7 separate regions of the Homo sapiens genome follow, and all the other regions are linked to region 6. The links are contacts of gene promoters, found by promoter capture Hi-C in blood cells and fetal thymus (Javierre and others, 2016). All regions are on one chromosome and are shown on one strand. The core of a region is centred on a gene start or on the middle of the fragment in contact, and the rest is flanking DNA. Distances in the headings are between cores, read along the strand shown.

The links. The method cuts DNA at HindIII sites, captures the fragments that hold promoters and counts their contacts. A CHiCAGO score of 5 or more calls a contact.
Region 1: the fragment with the promoter of RPA3 here is called in contact with the fragment with the promoter of ICA1 in region 6 in 14 of 17 cell types (M2 macrophages, neutrophils, total CD4 T cells and 11 more); the score reaches 11.7 in M2 macrophages.
Region 2: a fragment that was not itself captured here is called in contact with the fragment with the promoter of ICA1 in region 6 in 1 of 17 cell types (fetal thymus); the score reaches 5.6 in fetal thymus.
Region 3: a fragment that was not itself captured here is called in contact with the fragment with the promoter of ICA1 in region 6 in 6 of 17 cell types (total B cells, fetal thymus, M0 macrophages and 3 more); the score reaches 10.7 in total B cells.
Region 4: a contact is called between a fragment that was not itself captured here and the fragment with the promoter of ICA1 in region 6, in 1 of 17 cell types (naive B cells). The highest score is 5.7, in naive B cells.
Region 5: a fragment that was not itself captured here is called in contact with the fragment with the promoter of ICA1 in region 6 in 3 of 17 cell types (erythroblasts, fetal thymus and M0 macrophages); the score reaches 6.4 in erythroblasts.
Region 7: a fragment that was not itself captured here is called in contact with the fragment with the promoter of ICA1 in region 6 in 1 of 17 cell types (erythroblasts); the score reaches 9.1 in erythroblasts.

The regions. Positions count from the first base shown.
Region 1 is chr7:7,717,199-7,719,898 of GRCh38, forward strand. It overlaps RPA3 (replication protein A3), which reads right to left and starts at 1,409. Exons shown (of 8, transcript NM_002947.5): 1 at 1,317-1,409. The region is part of intron 2 of UMAD1 (UBAP1-MVB12-associated (UMA) domain containing 1); the gene reads left to right. The HindIII fragment of the contact is 2,432 bases long and covers 1-1,708 here.
Region 2 is chr7:7,448,512-7,451,211 of GRCh38, forward strand. All of the region lies in intron 18 of COL28A1 (collagen type XXVIII alpha 1 chain), which reads right to left. Among named protein-coding and RNA genes, the nearest start is that of COL28A1, 86 kb to the right of the region's middle. The HindIII fragment of the contact is 732 bases long and covers 887-1,618 here.
Region 3 is chr7:7,537,592-7,540,511 of GRCh38, forward strand. It overlaps a transcript of COL28A1 not described here. Among named protein-coding and RNA genes, the nearest start is that of COL28A1, 3.2 kb to the left of the region's middle. The HindIII fragment of the contact is 197 bases long and covers 1,218-1,414 here.
Region 4 is chr7:7,519,600-7,522,484 of GRCh38, forward strand. COL28A1 (collagen type XXVIII alpha 1 chain) reads right to left here. Exons shown (of 35, transcript NM_001037763.3): 5 at 2,306-2,362; 6 at 463-516. Among named protein-coding and RNA genes, the nearest start is that of COL28A1, 15 kb to the right of the region's middle. The HindIII fragment of the contact is 906 bases long and covers 1,053-1,958 here.
Region 5 is chr7:7,615,958-7,618,657 of GRCh38, forward strand. No RefSeq gene overlaps it. Among named protein-coding and RNA genes, the nearest start is that of UMAD1, 23 kb to the right of the region's middle. The HindIII fragment of the contact is 5,558 bases long and covers 1-2,700 here.
Region 6 is chr7:8,260,806-8,263,571 of GRCh38, forward strand. It overlaps ICA1 (islet cell autoantigen 1), which reads right to left and starts at 1,362. Exons shown (of 14, transcript NM_001136020.3): 1 at 1,289-1,362. ICA1-AS1 (ICA1 antisense RNA 1) reads left to right here and starts at 1,420. Exons shown (of 6, transcript NR_125740.1): 1 at 1,420-1,614; 2 at 1,775-2,021. The HindIII fragment of the contact is 9,065 bases long and covers 1-2,766 here.
Region 7 is chr7:7,599,171-7,601,919 of GRCh38, forward strand. All of the region lies in intron 11 of MIOS (meiosis regulator for oocyte development), which reads left to right. Among named protein-coding and RNA genes, the nearest start is that of MIOS, 34 kb to the left of the region's middle. The HindIII fragment of the contact is 2,383 bases long and covers 309-2,691 here.

The DNA.
Region 1 (2,700 bases), core at 159-2,658, 540 kb before region 6:
GGTATGCGCCACCACGCCCAGCTAATTTTCGTATTTTTGGTAGAGACTGGGTTTCACCACGTTGGCCTGGCTGGTCTCGAACTCCTGACCCCAAGTGATCCGCCTGCCTCAGCATCCCAAAGTGCTGGAATTACAGGCATAAGCCACCTCGCCCAGCCTCCTGTTTCTTTCATCTATTAAAACTCCACTCTTAAACTCACTCCTTGTGTGTCCTCGTCCTTCAGTTTCTTTGGCGTGAGACGATAACCTCAGGTATTTACCTCAGACAACTCTGCTACTTCAGAAGTATTTACTTTATTAAATGAATATGATTTATTGTTTTGAAGTAAAATGTTTAAGGTATGCATGTATTTTTTATGATTTCCCACTTTAACTGATTTTTTTATTAAATGAAGAAATGGTCTCAATCACATTGGCTAACATGGCCTCTATTTATTTAATTCATCTGTTTTTCCCACTTTGGGGCATCAACAGCATGGAGTATTTGGAAAACTACTTGTATTTGTAAAGAGTAAAATGCAGTTTAACAAAGAAGTTAGTTTGTCATTGTATAGTTCAGGAACTCTGGCCTGGATGAGAGCATGAGTTTGAAATTTTGTCCTCAAGATTTTGTTTTTATCTTACCATCACCTTTTATGCTTAAGTTTATGATTGGCCATAATTATCAAATTGACACATTATGTCATGTGAAAATCTGTTTACCAAACTTTTCTATTAATAAACTTGATGTTTAATTGTAATATTAAGAGTCACAGAGTGCTGTAGATTCTGTTTGTCATAGTTGTGTAGCTTTTAGAGTTTAGGGAAATCTAGTTTTTAGAATTGACACAATGATTTTTAATTTTAGCAGTGTGTTGAATAACCTGTGATATACCATTCACTTATTAACTTCACATTGTTGTATAATAAGTTATAAATTTTAGATCAGATAAGAAAGTAAAACTGGTATTAATTTGGGAAGAAGAAATTGCAGAACTTGAGTGATTTTTCCAAATAATGTGTCAGCTGTAACTTGAATGTGTTATTTTTATCCCCAAGGGTATTTTGAAATATACTTATGTGAATTTCTTATAGTTTATTTTAACCATAAAACTATTTTGATATTTTTATAATGCCATCGATGATACTGTATGCATAGTGAGGGCATGGGTTGTCTGTTCTTACCACCATATTCCCAGCACTAGCATGGAACAAATGAATAAGAACGGAGTAAAAATGCATAATCTAAACTTGACTATGTGTGTCTTCAAAATAATACCTTTAAGTTATTTTGAAGGAAAAAACTATGTATCCAACAAATTCAAACAGATACTTACAAAATTAAGACGATTGTAAATGTGTGTTGTCCTCCTTCTCATTGTTTTTCACATCCAAAAATGTCCTCTTGGAGCCTCTTATCTGAGTAGCTTCTGTGGATCTGATGATGCTAGGATTTTATTTTTTCTTTTATTTTAAAGTTCTTCTGATTACATCATCTCTTTGTATAGACATCATTCTTGACAGATGGCATTTATTAAATATGGACAGTAGCAGGCAGTTAAAAAGACCTGCATGAGATAGGCAGGAACCTTTCTTTTTTCTTTCTGACTCTCAGAAGCAATACCAGCATTAGCTTTATTTAACTTCTAGATTAATTTAAAAAGAAACCTCTTTAAATTATGACTCAACAGGTACAGGGTGAAGTGGGGGAAATGTATGTGTGTTTTAAAGCTTCCCAAGTGATTTTGACCATCAGTTAAGTTTAGAAACCACTGATTACAATTAATTTCCTTAGAATTTGCTCATATATTTAATTCCAAAGAGGAAGAAAATTGAAATTTTAAAAAACATATGAGTATTTTTGGAGATGACATAACTTTCCTTTTATTGTGTTAAAAAAAGCTTTAAGAACTGTTTTTTTCTGCATTTTTATTAATTATCAAGATTTAGTGATGGTTTAGAGAGCTAAAAACACCTTTAGGGTGAATTCAGAAGATCTAGCAGATACAATGATGAAATATGATCAGCAAGCTTTAGGAGAGGATAACAAATGTGTGATTTTGAAATCTCTTCTATTTGAAACCAATCCAGAGTCTTGAATTTGATCCAGTATATAGTATGCTACAAATGGAAAGATTAAACTGGAGCAATATAATTAGGGTAAGCCATTGCATCTGCACTTGTATCGCAGCAACTGAATTTGAAACCAGCTGCAAAATGGTGACTAATCTCTCTGGCAAGCCCACATGAGAGTGTAGTACAATAAGCCAGCTTCAGCCTCATGAGCACATGTTTCTTCAACTTGCCTCTGAGCAGGTGATGGTGATGATGCAATCTGATTATACTTTTGAATGTATTCTAACCACAGTCAACAGTAGAGTCTCACAAGGGATTTCACAAAAGACTTCAAACCGACTGTATATTTTTCAGAGAGTTGAGCTATAGACAGCCATGGAAAGTAGTAGTTTTTTTTTTCACGTTAGTGACTACTGTACTTTGCAGTACTTTATAATCTTAAGTTTAGGAGGCTTTAGTTTTCATATGTGAACTGAAGATGAGAAGAATAATGTGGAAAGAAAGTACTTGTACTTGGAGCTTTTATTCTGAATTGTTCACAACAACTTACACTGATCAATTAAAATAATTAAATTGTCTAGACTATTTAATTCTGTACAAACAAGAGATGGTAAATCAGTGTACTGTGTTTAAGTGGTACACTAA
Region 2 (2,700 bases), core at 3-2,502, 810 kb before region 6:
AAATGAATACCTACCTTCTGACCTAGCCATTTGACTTCTAGGTGTTTACCCAAGAAAAATAAAAACAAATGTCCATACAAACACATATAAAAATGTTCATTTATAACATTTTATTTATGATAAAATTTATAAAAATTTATAAAATTTATTTAAAATTTTTATTTATAATATTCCAAATCTGGAAAAAAACAAAATTTATACACAGGTGAATGGATAAATAAATTGTGGTATATCCATATAATACAATACTATTCAGCAATACAAAGGAATGAACTGTTCATATATATGCTACAACATGGATCTTAGATTTTGCTGCATTAAAAGAAGCCAGAAAATATCATATAGTATATAATTCCATAAAAATCTAGAAAATGCAAACTAGTCTATGATGACAAAAAACAGATCAATGGTTAGCAGATAATTGGAAAGCAGATCTGTGGGAAGCCTATTAGTGAACATAGAAGAAGTTACAGAGGGATAGAAGGACAGATGGTAACTTCTGAGGGTTACAGAAATATTTATCATCTTGATTGCAGTAATGATTCCAAGGGTATACACATATCTCAAAACATCAAATTGTATACTTTAAACATGTGCATTTATTATATGCCAATCAGATAATACAGTTATTAAAATAAAAGCAAAAATCCTGAATAAAAGATTAGTCAGTTGAATGATCATCATAAAAAAGTACACATAATGAATTGAGTTTATCTCAAGAATGCAAGGATGGTTTGACATCTGAAAACTCTGTAAATGTAATGTATCGTATTAACAAGTTAAAAGTGGAAAACAACACAATTATCTTAGTAGATGCATAATTTGATAAAATCCAGTAATCATTTATATTTAATAAGTAACTTTTGGTACAACCAAAAAAGAAGGAAGCTTCCTTAACCTAATGAAGGGTATCTATCAAAAACTTTCAGCAAACATCACACTTAAGAGTGAAATTTTAGAAGCACTTCTTTTGAAGTCATTTCTTTTAAACATTGTACAAGTGATCCTAGCAGTACAAAATGATAAAAAAAAAATCAAAGAAGAGCTAAAAAATAATAGGCAAAACTTTATATTCAGACAGTATGATTGTGTACATAGGGACTGAAAAAGCAAGAGATTCCACAAACAGATTTCACAGGGTGGCTGGATACAAAATCAACATGCCAAAAAACAAAACAAAACAAAACAAAAAAATTCTCCTATAGACCTATACTAGTTAGTTAAAAGATATAGAAAAAAAATTCACAATTATAAAAATTTCTTCAAGGTATCTGGAAATAAATTTAACTAAAAAAATACAAGACCTTTATGGAGAAAATTACAAATATTTTCTTGAAAAATTACAGCTTTACTCTGTGGTGTGAAAGACTTGCTATTTAATCTGTAGATTTAGTGCAAACCAAATGGGGTATCCTGTTAAATATGACAAGCCAACCCTAAAACATGTATCTTAGAGTCAATAATAACCAAGAAAGAAGATGAGAGTATTTTTCCTTTTAGATGACAAAATATATTATAAACCTATTATAATCAAGACAAGGAGGTAATAGCACTGAGAGATATAAATAGACAAATGGAGTAGAATACACAGCTCAGGCACTGATACTCAAAATATGGAAGCTTCATATATGAAAGAGGTGGTACTGCAAATCAGTGTGGTAAAGATGGACTATTCAACAACTGATTCTGGGGTACTTGTTTATTTATAGTAATAAAAAATAGATCCCTACATTGACCCATACACAAAAATAAATTCCATGTGGGTTAAATCCCTAAATTTTAAAAACAAAACACTAAAATTTTCAGAAAAATGCATAAGAATATCTTTATCAATCTCAGGTCAAGAAATGTTTTAAAATAATATTCAAAAATCACAAATCACAAAGGGATAGAAATATAGAATTTAAAACTTCTGTATACTAAGAAGTACTCTAAGTGAAAAAAATAAGTCAGAGCCTAGGAGAAGATATTTGCAGTTTGTATAACACAGTAAGATATATTTGTACACACTTCATATTTGCACAGATTTAGAGAAAGGAACATCATCGCCTACTGCTAGCAGGAAGGTAAACTGGCACAAGCATTTTGGACAAGATTTTGGTAGTATCACAATTGAAGACTCGCACGCTCTATGATCTTCCCATTCTACCTCTAACTGTCTATCTTCTACAAGTCAAGAAACTTGTCCTCCAACGTGTGCAAAAGGAAACAGAATGTTTGTGGCAGCATTGTTGGCAAAAGCAAAAAGAATGACAAGCAATTTAAATATCCACCATCATGAAGATGAATAAATATAAAATGAGATATTTTCATACAGTGGAATACTATAACGCGATTAATATCAATGAATTAGAGGCATACAAAAACACAAATAAAACATAAGGCTGACTATAAATATATTGCAGAATGATATATCATGTAAAGTTTAAGGACACAAAAAAAGTGATATATGGTTTATGGATAAAAATGTGTGGGAAATTATAAAAACTTCAAAAGAATGATAAACACCAAATTCATAATAATGATTATGTGTGAGGAGAGAAGGGAGGGCAGTGGGATTGGGGAGTGCCAGCAGGGACCTTCAGCCACACCTACAATGTTTCTTTTAAAAAGTCTAGAGTCAGTGTGGTAAAACATTAACATTTGATAAAGCTGGGCCGTGGAATACATAGGTGCTCTTTGTATTATTCTCTGTATGGT
Region 3 (2,920 bases), core at 66-2,565, 720 kb before region 6:
CTGGTAAGACCTGTGAGCCTCACTTATAACAACTACTGCATCATTAAGTATCTATGCGAACGTCTGTGTTTTCACTGTCTCCTCCTCACAAAACAGGTTTCGAGGAACTGAGGAAGTTTTGTGAGGCTTTGGTAACAGAAAGAAGAAACGGTGGGTATAATGCAGAAATAACAACGGAATTTCCTAGGGAACAACCATGTATTTACCTGATAGCCTATGGGTGTTAGTCACACTTTTTACTTTTGTAAGATGAGAATCAAGAGACAAGGAAGTAGCATCTTTTCAGGTCAACTCTCTTTTTGCTGAGGCAGGTTAAAAACATGCAGAATAATAATGCCACTAAGAAGCAAACAGGTGATTCCTAGATGGGGGAAATGGACTAAAGCCCTCCTGCCTTGGAGCTGTTTTGATTAAAGTTGGTGGGAGGTTGGAGTCCAACTTAGTCATCCATTCCCTTTCATTCTCCAACATTAAATAGGGTAACTCAAACCAAAGATTTGCCACCTCTCATTCTCAAGCGTGAAAATCAGCACTAAATTAATTGGGAAGATTATGCAAAATAAAATCTTCAGTTTCATCAATCTATAAAAGACAATTAGTTTTGCACCCAGAGAAACAATGCACCACAATCTTAATCCCAACAGATGGTCTTGAATTAGTATGCTATTGGACTTACACCAGAACAAATAAGAGAGCATGGATAACCATAATGACTAGAAAAAGGCAACGTGGAGCCCATGCCCTTCTGACAGTTATTTTGTAGTAAAAGTCTTTATGGAAGAAATATAGCACACTATTTTCATTGTTACTACTATAAATAGCCCAGAGTAAGCAGTCATATTTGTGAAATAAATGATTATTAGAAGTAATTTTTAGTGTTTATCAGTCACTTGAGGTCTGTGATACAATAAATTGCTCTTCTCCAAAGCTCTGCTAGATGAAAATCTTTTTTCAACTTTTTCAAATTCTTTTAATATGCTACCATAGTAGCATCTGCATTGTGTTTATTGATTCTAGTACCAGTGCCAACATCTTAATTTCAGTGGTGATGATATTTTGGGGTCCTAGAATCATTTAAAAAGAGACAAGTCTGCTAGGACTTACATATTTCAGAGAATTGTATCTGCATGAAGTCATAGAAATACACACAAAAAAAGGCTGGTAACAAATCAAAGTTATATATTTTGACCAAGATTAAGGCATAGTATAGTTTCACAAGCTTCTCCCTATTTTAGCCACCTCCCACACTGCTGATCTAGAGTAGAAAAAAAAAAACATTACCAACTAACAAGGAAGAAATTAATGACCTTCGTACCTGATTTGAAGAAATTTGTTCTTGAAGATCCTTTCCTTTCTTTCTTTCTTTTTTTCTTTTTCTTTCTTTCTTTCTCTTTCTTCTTTTTGTCAGTAGAAAAGCTTGATATAGTAGAATTTCTAACACCTGCCCCAAAGCTCTGAAATTTCTGGGATTCATTATCCTTGGACCCAGAATATGACCTAGGCATTCTCTCAACTCCTTCATCAGTAATTAGAGGAACACTGTCTTAGTCCATTTTGTGTTGCTATAAAGGAATACCTAAGGCTGAGTAATCTATAAAGAAAAGAGGTTTATTTGGCTTACAATTCTGCAGTCTATGCAAGAAGCATGACACCAGCATCTGCTTCTGGTGAGGGCCATTGACTGCTTCTACTCATGGCAGAAGGTGAAAGGGGACCAGCGTGTGCAGATCATATGGTAAGAGGGAGCAAGAGAGCAGGGAGAGAGGTGTCAGACTCTTTTAAAGAATCAGCTCCCCCAGGAACTAATACAGAGAGAACACACTCATTACCGCAAGGATGGCATTAAGTCATTCATAAGGGATCCACCCACATGACCCAAACGTTTCCCATCAGGCCCCACTTCCAACAGTGGGGATGAAATTTCAACACGAGGTTTGGAGGGGGCAAATATGCAAACCATGGCAAACACCAAAACTGTATTGGTCTTATTTGTCAACAAAGGGAAAGATTAAAAGCATTCAAAGACAATAAGAAAATAAAAATTATCATTGGTAATAAAATACAGGATGTGGCATTGCTTAAATGTGGAACAGCGTGACTTCAGTTCCTATGCCCTCACCAAATTCTGATTGAGTTGATCCTTCCACATTCCCTCTACTATTTTTCAATTGTTACTATTATTTAATAAACTTTATGGTTTAGAGCAGTTTCGGGGTACAGCAACACGGACTCAATTATCTTTTATATCGTTTACTCCCTAAGATCTCTTGCTTCATTATTTGTCATTCAATCCCCAGCTTGAATAATTGTGTCACATTTGCAACACACAGTGCCTCATAGGCTACAGTGACAGGCTAAATTCCCGTTATACCAATCTTATGACTATTAATCTCTTTCTCTAAAATATTTTTTCAATATTAATATTTCTTCTTTCCATGTTGTTTATTCCTGACTAAATGCAATTATTTTAGACCAAAAATAAATCAAGGTGCCATCTGGAAAGTTTTACAATTTTTTTTCTAAGAAATATCTGAAAGTAGATTGATCTAGTCCTATCATAGGTTTGAATGTTCAATATTTTTCTTTAATTATTTTCTTTGGTCAATGGATAGAGCAGTTTTAACTTTTTCATGCAGAGCCTACAAATAGAGAAAGATCAGATCTATTTATACCTTGACTAAACTCTGCTTTAAATGGCAAAATATTTCTATTTTTCACTTAGTTCATTTTACTTTCAGATATTAGACAGTGTTATTCTAGATCTTGGTGAATTATTTGATAACCACTGATTGGTATTTAAACTTTTCTTGTATTGGGGACAAACAATAGTGTTAAATCTCTGAACTGGAAGGAAACTTAGAAACCACTTTTATTTAATTCTGCCATTTCACAGTTGATAAAATAGAGGACAGATATTAAG
Region 4 (2,885 bases), core at 256-2,755, 740 kb before region 6:
CAGAGAAAAGAATTCGAGAAGTCCTTGAAGATGCTCTGGGAGTGAGAAACAATCTGGTGGTTTTTCTATGATTATTGTCAGTCAGTTAATCATTAAAAGTATACCCATTAAAAACACAAGTGCCAGTGTCAATCTGATATGGAACACATATTACTAGTTGCTGAATCATCATCCTAAATAAGATTGGCTGCTATCGTTTAAGTACTAGTTTCTGTTTATTCAATGTCCCTAGGTTTCCTAAACTTACTGACTAAAATGTTCATATATGTTACTCAGAATTTGTGAATTCAAGCTAATAGAAATAAGATAGATAATATAGGAAGTGGAAATCCTGTATTCTTCACAAAAGTTGTCACATTTTTGCCATATACTACAATGCTTTTTATTTTTAAAATTGTTGTTTTAAAAAAAAAGTCTAGAAGGAGATACGCTGGTTTAAAGAAAAGCTGTTTATTCATTTACCGGGTTTCCTTTTGGTCCTCGCTCACCTTTGATACCTGGATTTCCATGTGTACCCTGAAGGCAAAGGGAAAAAATATTATTTTAAGTAGGAATTCTATTGTTTTCTATACTTTATAATAATTTCTGATCAGTTTTGTTTCCTAGAATGAGGGAGAATTGTAAAACCTTTACCTGCCAAGCAGAAATTCAATTCTCTTCTCCCTTTTTCTACACCAGGAAAACCACTGTCTTGAATTGGCAGATTTTCTAGATTTGCTCAAAAGAGAATAATGTTTCTCTCTTCCCACCAATTACTTCTTCCCAAAACAATCACTTCTCAGCAGTTTTGCAAACAAAATCAAACTCATGCAAAGATTTAAAAGAGTAGCTGCAACAGGCAGAAGGATAGGAGTTGTTCCCAATCTCTCTTCATTGTGGGTCACTTCTACGATTCCCTCTGTCACTCACTTTTAAAAGGACCAAGCTAGCTTGCTTGCCTTTGGTCAAAGAGGTTCTGATATCCAGGAGACAATCTCAAAAGATGGGAGAAAGGAGCTCTGTAATCCTGTTCCAGAAAAGCATTTTGTTTTCCTGTTCCTAATCAACCAGAAAGCTTGCTTTTCTGAGAAATGGTGTTGGGGGTACTCGATAATGTTAAATAACATATTCTGTGGCTTATCCCTACTAAAATGTGACAAGAATGTGACTAAAATTGTCAGGTGCTTAGCAATTGTGAGCTTTCTTATTGCTCATTTTAAAATATAAAGAAATATTTCTTACCCTGGCCATCTCTTGGTGTCATAGAGATAAACGAAGACTTTATAGGAAGGGATGGCTAAACCTTTGCTTTAGCCAAAGTCAGCTTCTACTGGCTGCCCCACTATCATATAACGCATCTAACTTTGTATTTGGGGAGAAAAACATCCCTTGATTGGTAGGATGGTTTGAAAAATTGTAGGCTTTGGACCCGAGTCTCAAGGTAAAATTTGTCACATTCTAATTCATTCACAGTACACATTCCCCTCCCACCCCCAAATACAAGCATTAGTTGAAAATTTTTATCCATGCATTTTGTGAGATTCTCCATAGGGCTTCTTCTGAACTCTAAGGATGATATTTGGAATTATACAAATAAATAGAAGACTGAATGAGCACGTGAATGCTTTATGAAGATAAATGTTAAAAAAATGCTCAGCATTTCCAGTGATCTAGATGTCATTTCAAATGCCTTCCCAGTACAGACATGGCACCTACCAGTTATTAGGCCAGAATATAAAGAAAGCACTCCTTCCTGGATTATCTTATCAAACAATGAATCATCATAGTCAATCCTGCCATTTATTTTTGGTTGCCATGTGCTTACTTCCATTTCACAGAACTCACCCTAATCCCCCAAAGCATCGTGACCAGCTTCCTGTCCATGAGGCCACACGGTGTTGCTGCTGCACTGCTGCATTCGTGTGAAGCCAACATTTAACTTTCAGAGAGGCTTGTACTCCATGTTTCTAGTAGGATAAAGCTTTGCTTAAAGCACTGATTATTTGTATTAGCTTTTTCTGTATTCACTTCACTATTGAGAAATTCTGGCTTCAATTATTTTATGAGGAGGAATATAAATGTCCTTTGTGGGAACAACTTCAAAACACACCTGCCCTCAGTTCAGGTCAGTAAAATCCCAGGCTTATTTCTAAGGATAGAATGTGTCCCTTTAGAAATAAAAGAAAGAAGTAGCATTTCCATTTTTCCTCCCATTTCCAAACAATTGCTTTTCAGCAGTGCAAAATAGCCCCGATGTTTTCAAGAGCGAGTAGAGCTATCATTGCTAGGACTTTCTGACTTAAGTTCAAAGTGGAAGTATACTCACAGGAGGCCCTGGATCACCTGGATCTCCCTTCTCACATTCACAAATCTTGCGTTCACACTGAATCAATAATGAAATATGATATTAACACACAGTGAAATTCAAATTGTATGCAGCATTTCAAATTGTATTTCAAATACATTTCAAAGTGTATTTCAAATAAATTTCAAATAGCATTTCAAATTGTATTCAGTATATAACCAACTGGAGCACTCTCAAAGAAATTTTACCTTGCACATTTATGGATGTTTTGCTCTCTCTATTAAATTATTCCAGGCAAATTTATACCTACCAAGAGCTAGCTAACAAAATATTATTAAATTTCAGCATAGTTAAATAAAAGACATCCCATCAAAAATACATGTATAATATATAGATGCCAGTTAAAAGGAGAAAATAAATATTTTCAGTGGACTTTTAGAATTTCTGATCCTTCTCTTCTATATAACACATCAAAGCTCAATAATATAATAATATTAAATGCTCCTTTACTAGGCAAAGGAAAACATTTGACTTATAGCATATTTTACTAATTGTAAGATAATTGTAAGATGCACCTTCTTCCTCATTTTAACAACTCTGA
Region 5 (2,700 bases), core at 24-2,523, 640 kb before region 6:
ATGGACAGGTTAGGCCAAGTTGTGCTTGACCTAGTGGTGAATGACCACACACTTCTTTACCTTTGGCACAAGTGGTTCATCAATCTCCCACTTTCCCTCAGATCCTTTTTCAGCGTAGTATTCTAGGCACCAACTGCCAACTGGCCAGTGTTCACCTGTTTGTCATTTTCAGCTTAACTACCAATTTGGACAATTGGAGAGGTATTCGAACCGGATGGTAAAGCTGAAATTAGATCTCAAGTCTCTTCACTGAAGTCTAGTACTCTTATATTTCATAGACAATGAACTGGACCAGATGAATTCTTCTGTTAGTATGATGTATATCATATGAACTTCCAATAATTTTAAAGCTAACTTTTTATTATAAAAATGATACAGGCTCATGGTAAAGTCACTGTGGGAAACAGTATGGTGTTTCTTCAAAAAATTAAAAATAAAATTACCAGGCAGATGTGGTGGCTCACACCTGTAATCCCAGCACTTGGAGAGGCCATGGTGGGAGGATTGCTTGAGCCTAGGAGTTCAAGACCAGCCTGGGCAACACAGCGAGGTCCCAACTCTACAAAAACAAATTCCAAAAATTAGTTGGGCATGGTGGAGCATACCTGTAGTCTCGGCTGAAGCAGAAGGATCACTTGAGCCCAGGAGTTCAAGGCTTCAACAAGCCATGCTTGTGCCAATGCACTCCAGCCTGCGTGATAGAGTGAGACCCTGTCTCAAAAAAAAAGAAAAAAAAAGAAAGAAAAAGGAATTACCATATGATCCAGCAATTGCACTTCTGGGTATATACTTAAAATAATTGAAAGCAATCTTTTGAAATGGTCTCAAAGAGTTATTTGTGTACCAATATTTATAGCAGCATTATTCACGATAGTTAAAATGTGAAAGCAACTCAAGTGTCCTGGACAGATGAATAAGGAAAATGTGGTATACATATTCAAAGCAATATTATTCAGCCTTATAAAGAAAGGAGCTGGATATGGTGGCTCACGCCTGAAATCCCGACACTTTGGGTGGCTGAGGTAGGAGGATTGCTTGAGGCTGGGAGTTCAAGAAGAGCCTGGGCAACATGGTGAGATCCCATGTCTACACAAAATACAAAACTGGGCCAGACATGGTGGCACATGCCTGTAGTCTTAGCTACTCGGGAGGCTGAGGTGGAAGGATTGCTTGAACCTGAGAGGTGAAAGCTGCAGTGAGCTATGATCACACCACTGCAATACAGCCTGAGTGACAGATTAAGACCCTGACAAAAAAAAAAAAGGAAATTCTGATATGCTGAAACATGAATAAATTTTGAGGATATTATGCTAAGCAAAATAATCTAACCAAAAAGACAAATACTTTATGATTCCACCTGTATAAGGTACTTAGATTGGTCAAAATCATAGAAAGAGAAAATAGAAAGGTGGTAGCCAGAGACTAGAGGGGAGGGAATGGGGAGTTACTGTTTAATGGATACTGAGTTTCAGTTTTACACAATGAAATGAGTTTTGGAGATGGATGGTGGTGATAGTTGCACATAATTATGAATGTATTTAATATCATTGAATTGTATGCTTAAAAAAGGTTAAGTTGGTAAATTTTATATTATACGTATTTTGCCACAATAAAAAATTGGGAAAAAATGCAGGCTTATCACAAGAAAAAAAAATTACATAAAGTATAAAGTGGAAGTAAATATCTTCTTAGCAGTTTGCCCCATTATCTTCCTGCTCTATGTGTCACCTCCCTAAACGCCAACTCTCACTTTCTAGGAAAAGCTGCTTTAAAGTCTGTACACATGTAAGGAAATGTTCTTTACATAAACCACATCTGGCTGTGTTTGTCTGCGTTCATCTTTGCCTCTCTCTCTTTGCCTGGATAAGATCATACTGCATAAACTCTCCTCTAATGGTTTTTTCCTATCTAAAATATGTATTTTGAAGAGTTTCCCTTATTAGCCTATATATATCTAATTTTTAAAAACTGACTGAATGGTGTGTGATTAGATGTCTATATCTCCCATTGATAGAAATGTAGGGTATTTCCATTCGTTTTTACAAATGATACTGCAGTGAGCATCTTTGAGTATAAATCTTTGGGTACTTGTGAGTGAGTTAATTTCTCAGATAAATTAGGTGGAATTATGAGCCAAAAGTTATGTGTATTTTACATTTTGATAGATATTGACAAATAGCCCTCCAAAAGTTGAACTAATTATCTCCCTATAAACTAAACAGCATAGGAAAGTGCCTGTTTTCCCAACACCTTCAACGCTAAGCATTATAAAATTTCTACTTATAGCCATGTAGTAGATGAAAATATTGAAAATATTTTAATTTACATATATTCAATTCTGAATGAGGTTAAACATAGATTTTATATGACTATTCACTGTTTGTATTTATTTACAATGCACTGCTTGTTCATTTCCATGCTCAATTTTAATGGTGTTTACTTTGAGGAAAAAAAAACACCTATATGGAAAAGCCCTGAATTATATGTAATTCCCTCTTTCTACACCTTTTCTGCTATAATTTGAAAGTTAGCTTTGGTCAGTTTTTTCACTGTCACTGTTTCTTTCCTCCCTCTCCTCCCTCTCCTCCCTTCCTCCCTTCCTCCTTTCCTTTCTTCCTTCCTTCCTTGACAGGGTCTTGCTATATTGCCCAGGCTGGAGTGCAGTGGCTATTCACAGGTGTGATCCTAGTGCACTACAGC
Region 6 (2,766 bases), core at 112-2,611:
GGGGGTATGAAATTGCATCGGGAGCCTAGATTTCAAACTAAGCATTTCTTATTTCACTCCCTAACCACAGAACAGTTCAGATCTCAGATTCAAACCAGAGGGCCACAGAAACCAATTTGAGATTTTCCGAAGAGACTTCACTGAAACGTATGGACAAAAACATGTTTGCGATGAGTCATATTTTATAGGACCTTAATGGCCAATAAATGCCTTATGTGTCTTTCTTCCTACATTCAGTATCACTCCCAAGCAAGCTGGTGACATATTTTCCAGGCCTTGATAATTTTTATACCGTTACCAGATCTCGGTTACTAAGATTCATGAACAAAACCCTTTCTTGCGCTAATTTTTTAATGCCATCTAAATGAAGAGAACGCGATTCTTTCCAAACTAACTCTCCCCAACCAGGCAGTTAATGCCCTTCGCCAGAATAAGGGCGCGATACTTTTAAGACCCCAAAGAGAAGCTCAGGTGCTTTGGGGGTACTACAAGTAAAAAGACAGTGGGAAAGGTTCCTGGAGAGCCGCTTTGGGGGAAAGGCAGACATAACAACAGGATATGTTCGTTTCTAGAGGAAGCAGGAGCTGCAATAGCCCCGGAGCAGGAAAGGCGGAGTCAGCAGCGCCCAAAGGAAACGGGCGCGCCAGGGTTTGCTGGAACCGGGGTTGCTTAGGGGTTCTCGCCCCGTCTAGTCCGAGACTGCTGAGCACCTCGCCCCCGGGGGACCAAGCTCAGGCCTCCTGGCACTAGTGGTTATAAAGAGGTACCCATATGCTCTCTGCCGCCCCTGCCAAAAAAAGGGCCACGGAGGGGAAGAGAAAAAGCACACACCAGGCGCCGCGGCAGGTGAACTTGTCAACAAGTCAACCCTGGACGCAAGTCCCTGCCCACCAGGGAGCTCGGGGTCCTGGGGCCGGAGCCGCCGGGAAGGCGAGGCGCGCGGTGGGTGGGTGGGGTGGGCTGGCATGGGTGCCGGTGCTCCCAGCGCTGGGGCCGGAGCGCGGAACGCTTCCCTACCGCTCCCCCGGGGCTGACGCACGCTCTCACGGCGCGCGCATCCTCCAGACCTTCCCAGGCCGGAGGGAGGAGGGGAGGGGAAGGGGCTGATGCGGTTCCCGCACCGGGATCCGGGACCCGAGGAGGCGACTCGCCTATCACGCGCCGCCCGCGGAGGGCAGAGAAGGCAGCTCCTACCAGGCGTCCCCGACCGTCCCGGCTGCCGGGCGTCTCCTGCTGCTTCCTGCAGCCCGCCCGGCGCGCCCCCGCCCCGACCCCGGAGGGCAGGTACCTCGGAGCCCCGGCCCCCAGGAGCCTCCCGGCCGCGGTCGGAGCGTCCCTCCGGATCACTCATCCGACGTCAGCGTCAGCCGAAGGCGAGGGAAAGGGGCGGGGGGAGCGCAGGAACCGGCCCTTCCTGCGGCGGCCGCCACCAGCCGGAATAGCAACCGGCGGAGCCCGTGCGCACCGCAGCGCAGCGCAGCGGCCGGGGGGTGCGGGCGCCCTCGCCGCCCGGCTACCTACCGCCGCCTGGGCGCCGCCGCTGCCTCCCTTCCCCGCTTCTACCCTCCAGCAGACGCCCGCCGGAGCGACCCCTCCCAGGGTGACCGGGGGAAGGTGGGTGGCGTTGACCTCACCTTGCTTGGGGAGGGTCGGGGACTCGGGGAGTGAGTTTCTCTCTCTCTACTCCCCGGGGTCTCTCCTCGACCCCCATCTCCTGGGGTATCCCCCGCTCGGATCCGCCGCCCAGAGTGACCCCGCCCCTGCTCTCCGGCAGGTGTTCCACGTGGCCATAGCGTTTGCGTCACAATGACCTGGCGGACAGGTGGGAGCCACAGCGTACACCCCAGGGTTCCCTCTGTGCTGTGCGTAGTGCCTACTGCTTGCTTCCAGGTTAAATTTCTGTAGCTTTAGAGGACAGGAGACTTCATGACTTCACTGCCAAGAAAAGTTACAGAGGCCTGCTGTACCTGGAAATCAAGTTTGAGCTTCGAGAATAAAGGTCATGTTTTAAAAACAGCTGTGTATGTATAGGTATATGTTTTTCATTTCCATATATTTCTGTATCTTTTATTTTTAAGTTATTGCCATTTGTAGCAGTTTCATCTTCTCTTATCCTTTGTCACCAGGAAAGAACCAAACCATTGTTTCTAGAGACCCTGCAGTATACAGATCACAGGAAGAAAAAGTGTTGGCATAGCTGCTTCCTAATATTATCTATGTGGAAATGAAACCTCAATGTAGTATGACTTCATCCCTAGTTATGTTATACATTTATAAATAAGTTCATTCAGTCGTCGCTGAAACAATTTAAAAGGGCCGAATGATAGTTATTGAGTAATGATGCTGACGAATCAGAAATCCTGCGCTAACATGGATGGAGTGCTAGCTCTATGTCCGGCACATGCTGTATGCTTTATATTTAATCCTTACAGCAACCCAATACTGTAGATAAAATCATTATCCCGATTTCACAGATGAAGACACTGCCCAGAGTGCCATAAAGAGATTATTGAGCAGGGATTTGAATCTGAACCAGGAGACTTAGCTTAATCTCAAGATAGCATGGTGTCTTGCCAGAATGGATGGAGAAAAAGTATAGAATATGTTGACATTTTAATAGAAAGATAATAAGATACCTCCAGAAATTTACATAACCTTTAAAGTTATTCTTTGGGGATTCTGTTTGTCATAGATTTGAGCCTGTCCTAGTCTTAACACGAATTTTGGAGCTGAGTAAACATCTCCTTAGTAAGTGTGTATGAGTAA
Region 7 (2,749 bases), core at 250-2,749, 660 kb before region 6:
TAAAATTACGGTAATCTCATTTGACCACAAAACCTGTTCAGAATTGATGTGAGGCTATTAAGATATTTATTTCTCTTATTTATTAGTGAATATTCATCTTTCACTACAGAAATACTAACGAGTTTGATTACAGGGTGCTTTAGACTTCCCTCAAGGTGTACATATTTGCTACTTTTTTCTAAAATCCCAAACATCCTGGATTCTGAAACACATCTAAACCCCCAACATGAATTAGGACTATTATATAAGGAAAGAATTAGGAATTTTGAAAGTGGGAAATATTACTTCTATCTGAAGGATATCTGGAAAGCTTTAGGAGGAAGTTACCATTTAAGCCAGTCCTTTAAAGTTTGGTAGATTTAATATATGAAGATTGCAGGGAAGCCGTCCAGGTTGCAGACCAAGTGTAAAAAACATGAACTAGGGTGAAGAGATTGGTAAGTATTATGATAAGTACAGGGGGTGTTTGGGAAGAGCAAGTGTATTGTTGTGAAAGGACCTAGGAAGTGAACTGATAAGAAACAGTAGGAAAATTAGGGAGAGCCTGAATATGATCTTTAAAGGCATTGCTGAGCTAAGTTAGAGAATAATCACTCTTTATAATAGCAAAGACATAAAATCAACTTCAATGCCCATCAGTGGTGGACTGGATAAAGAAATGTGGTACATACACAGCATAGAATACTATGCAGCCATGTCTTTTGCAGCAGCATGGATAGAGCTGGAGGCCATTATCCTAAGCAAACTAACACAGGAACAGAAAACCAAATACCACATGTTATAAGTAGGAGCTAAACATTGAGAACATATGGTCATAAAGAAGGAATAACAGACACCAGGGCTTACTGGAGGGTGCTAGGTGGGAGGAGGATCGAAAAACTACCTGTCGGGTACTATGTTTATTACCTGGATGATGAAATAATCCGTACACCAAAACCCCCATGACACGCAATTTACCTGTATAACAAACCTGCACATGTACCCCTGAAACTAAAGTAAAAGTTTAAAAAAAAGAAAAAGAAGCAAATTATTTTTTTTTGGCATGTGAAATCAGAAAAGTCCATTTCCAAAGTAAAACAGGATCTAATAGAAATCAAGTGCTGGATAATTGGATAAAGAGTCAAGACCCATCAGTGTGCTGTATTCAGGAAACCCGTCTCACGTGCAGAGACACACATAGGCTCAAAATAAAGGGATGGAGGAAGATCTACCAAGCAAATGGAAAACAAAAAAAGGCAGGCGTTGCAATCCTGATCTCAGATAAAACAGAGTTTAAACCAACAAAGATCAAAAGAGACAAGGCCATTACATAATGGTAAAGGGATCAGTTCAACACGAAGAACTAACTATCCTAAATATATATGCACCCAATACAGGAGCACCCAGATTCATAAAGCAAGTCCTTAGTGACCTACAAAGAGACTTAGACTCCCACACAATAATAATGGGAGACTTTAACACCCCACTGTCAACATTAGACAGATCAACGAGGCAGAAAGTGAACAAGGATATCCAGGAATTGAACTCCGCTCTGCACCAAGCGGACCTAATAGACATCTACAGAACTCTCCACCCCAAATCAACAGCATATACATTCTTTTCAGCACCACACCACACCTTTTCCAAAATTGACCACATAGTTGGAAGTAAAGCACTCCTCAGCAAATGTAAAAGAACAGAAATTATAACAAACTGTCTCTCAGACCACAGTGCAATCAAACTAGAACTCAGGATTAAGACATTCACTCCAAACCGCTCAACTACATGGAAACTGAACAACGTGCTCCTGAATGACTACTGGGTACATAACGAAATGAAGGCAGAAATAAAGATGTTCTTTGAAACCAACGAGAACAAAGACACAACATACCAGAATCTCTGGGACACATTCAAAGCAGTGTTTAGAGGGAAATTTATAGCACTAAATGCCCACGAGAGTAAGCAGGAAAGATCTAAAATTGACACCCTAACATCACAATTGAAAGAACTAGAGAAGCAAGAGCAAACACATTGAAAAGCTAGCAAAAGGCAAGAAATAACTAAGATCAGAGCAGAACTGAAGGAAATAGAGACACAAAAGACCCTTCAAAAAATCAATGAATCCAGGAGCTGGTTTTTTTTTTGAAAAGATCAACAAAATTGATAGACTGCTAGCAAGACTAATAAAGAAGAAAAGAGAGAAAAATCAAATAGACGCAATAAAAAATGACAAAGGGGATATCACCACCGATCCCACAGAAATACAAACTACCATCAGAGAATACCATAAACACCTCTATGCAAATAAACTAGAAAATCTAGAAGAAATGGATAAATTCCTGGACACATACACCCTCCCAAGACTAAACCAGGAAGAAGTTGAATCTCTGAATAGACCAATAACAGGATCTGAAATTGAGGCAATCCTTAATAGCTTACCAACCAAAAAAAGTCCAGGACCAGATGGATTCACAGCCGAACTCTACCAGAGGTACAAGGAGGAGCTGGTACCATTCCTTCTGAAACTATTCCAATCAATAGAAAAAGAGGGAATCCTCCCCAACTCATTTTATGAGGCCAGCATCATCCTGATACCAAAGACTGGCAGAGACACAACAAAAAAAGAGAATTTTAGGCCAATATCCTTGATGAACATTGATGCAAAAATCCTCAATAAAATACTGGCAAACCAAATCCAGCAACACATCAAAAAGCTTATCCACCATGATCAAGTGGGCTTCATCCCTGGGATGCAAGGCTGGTTCAACAT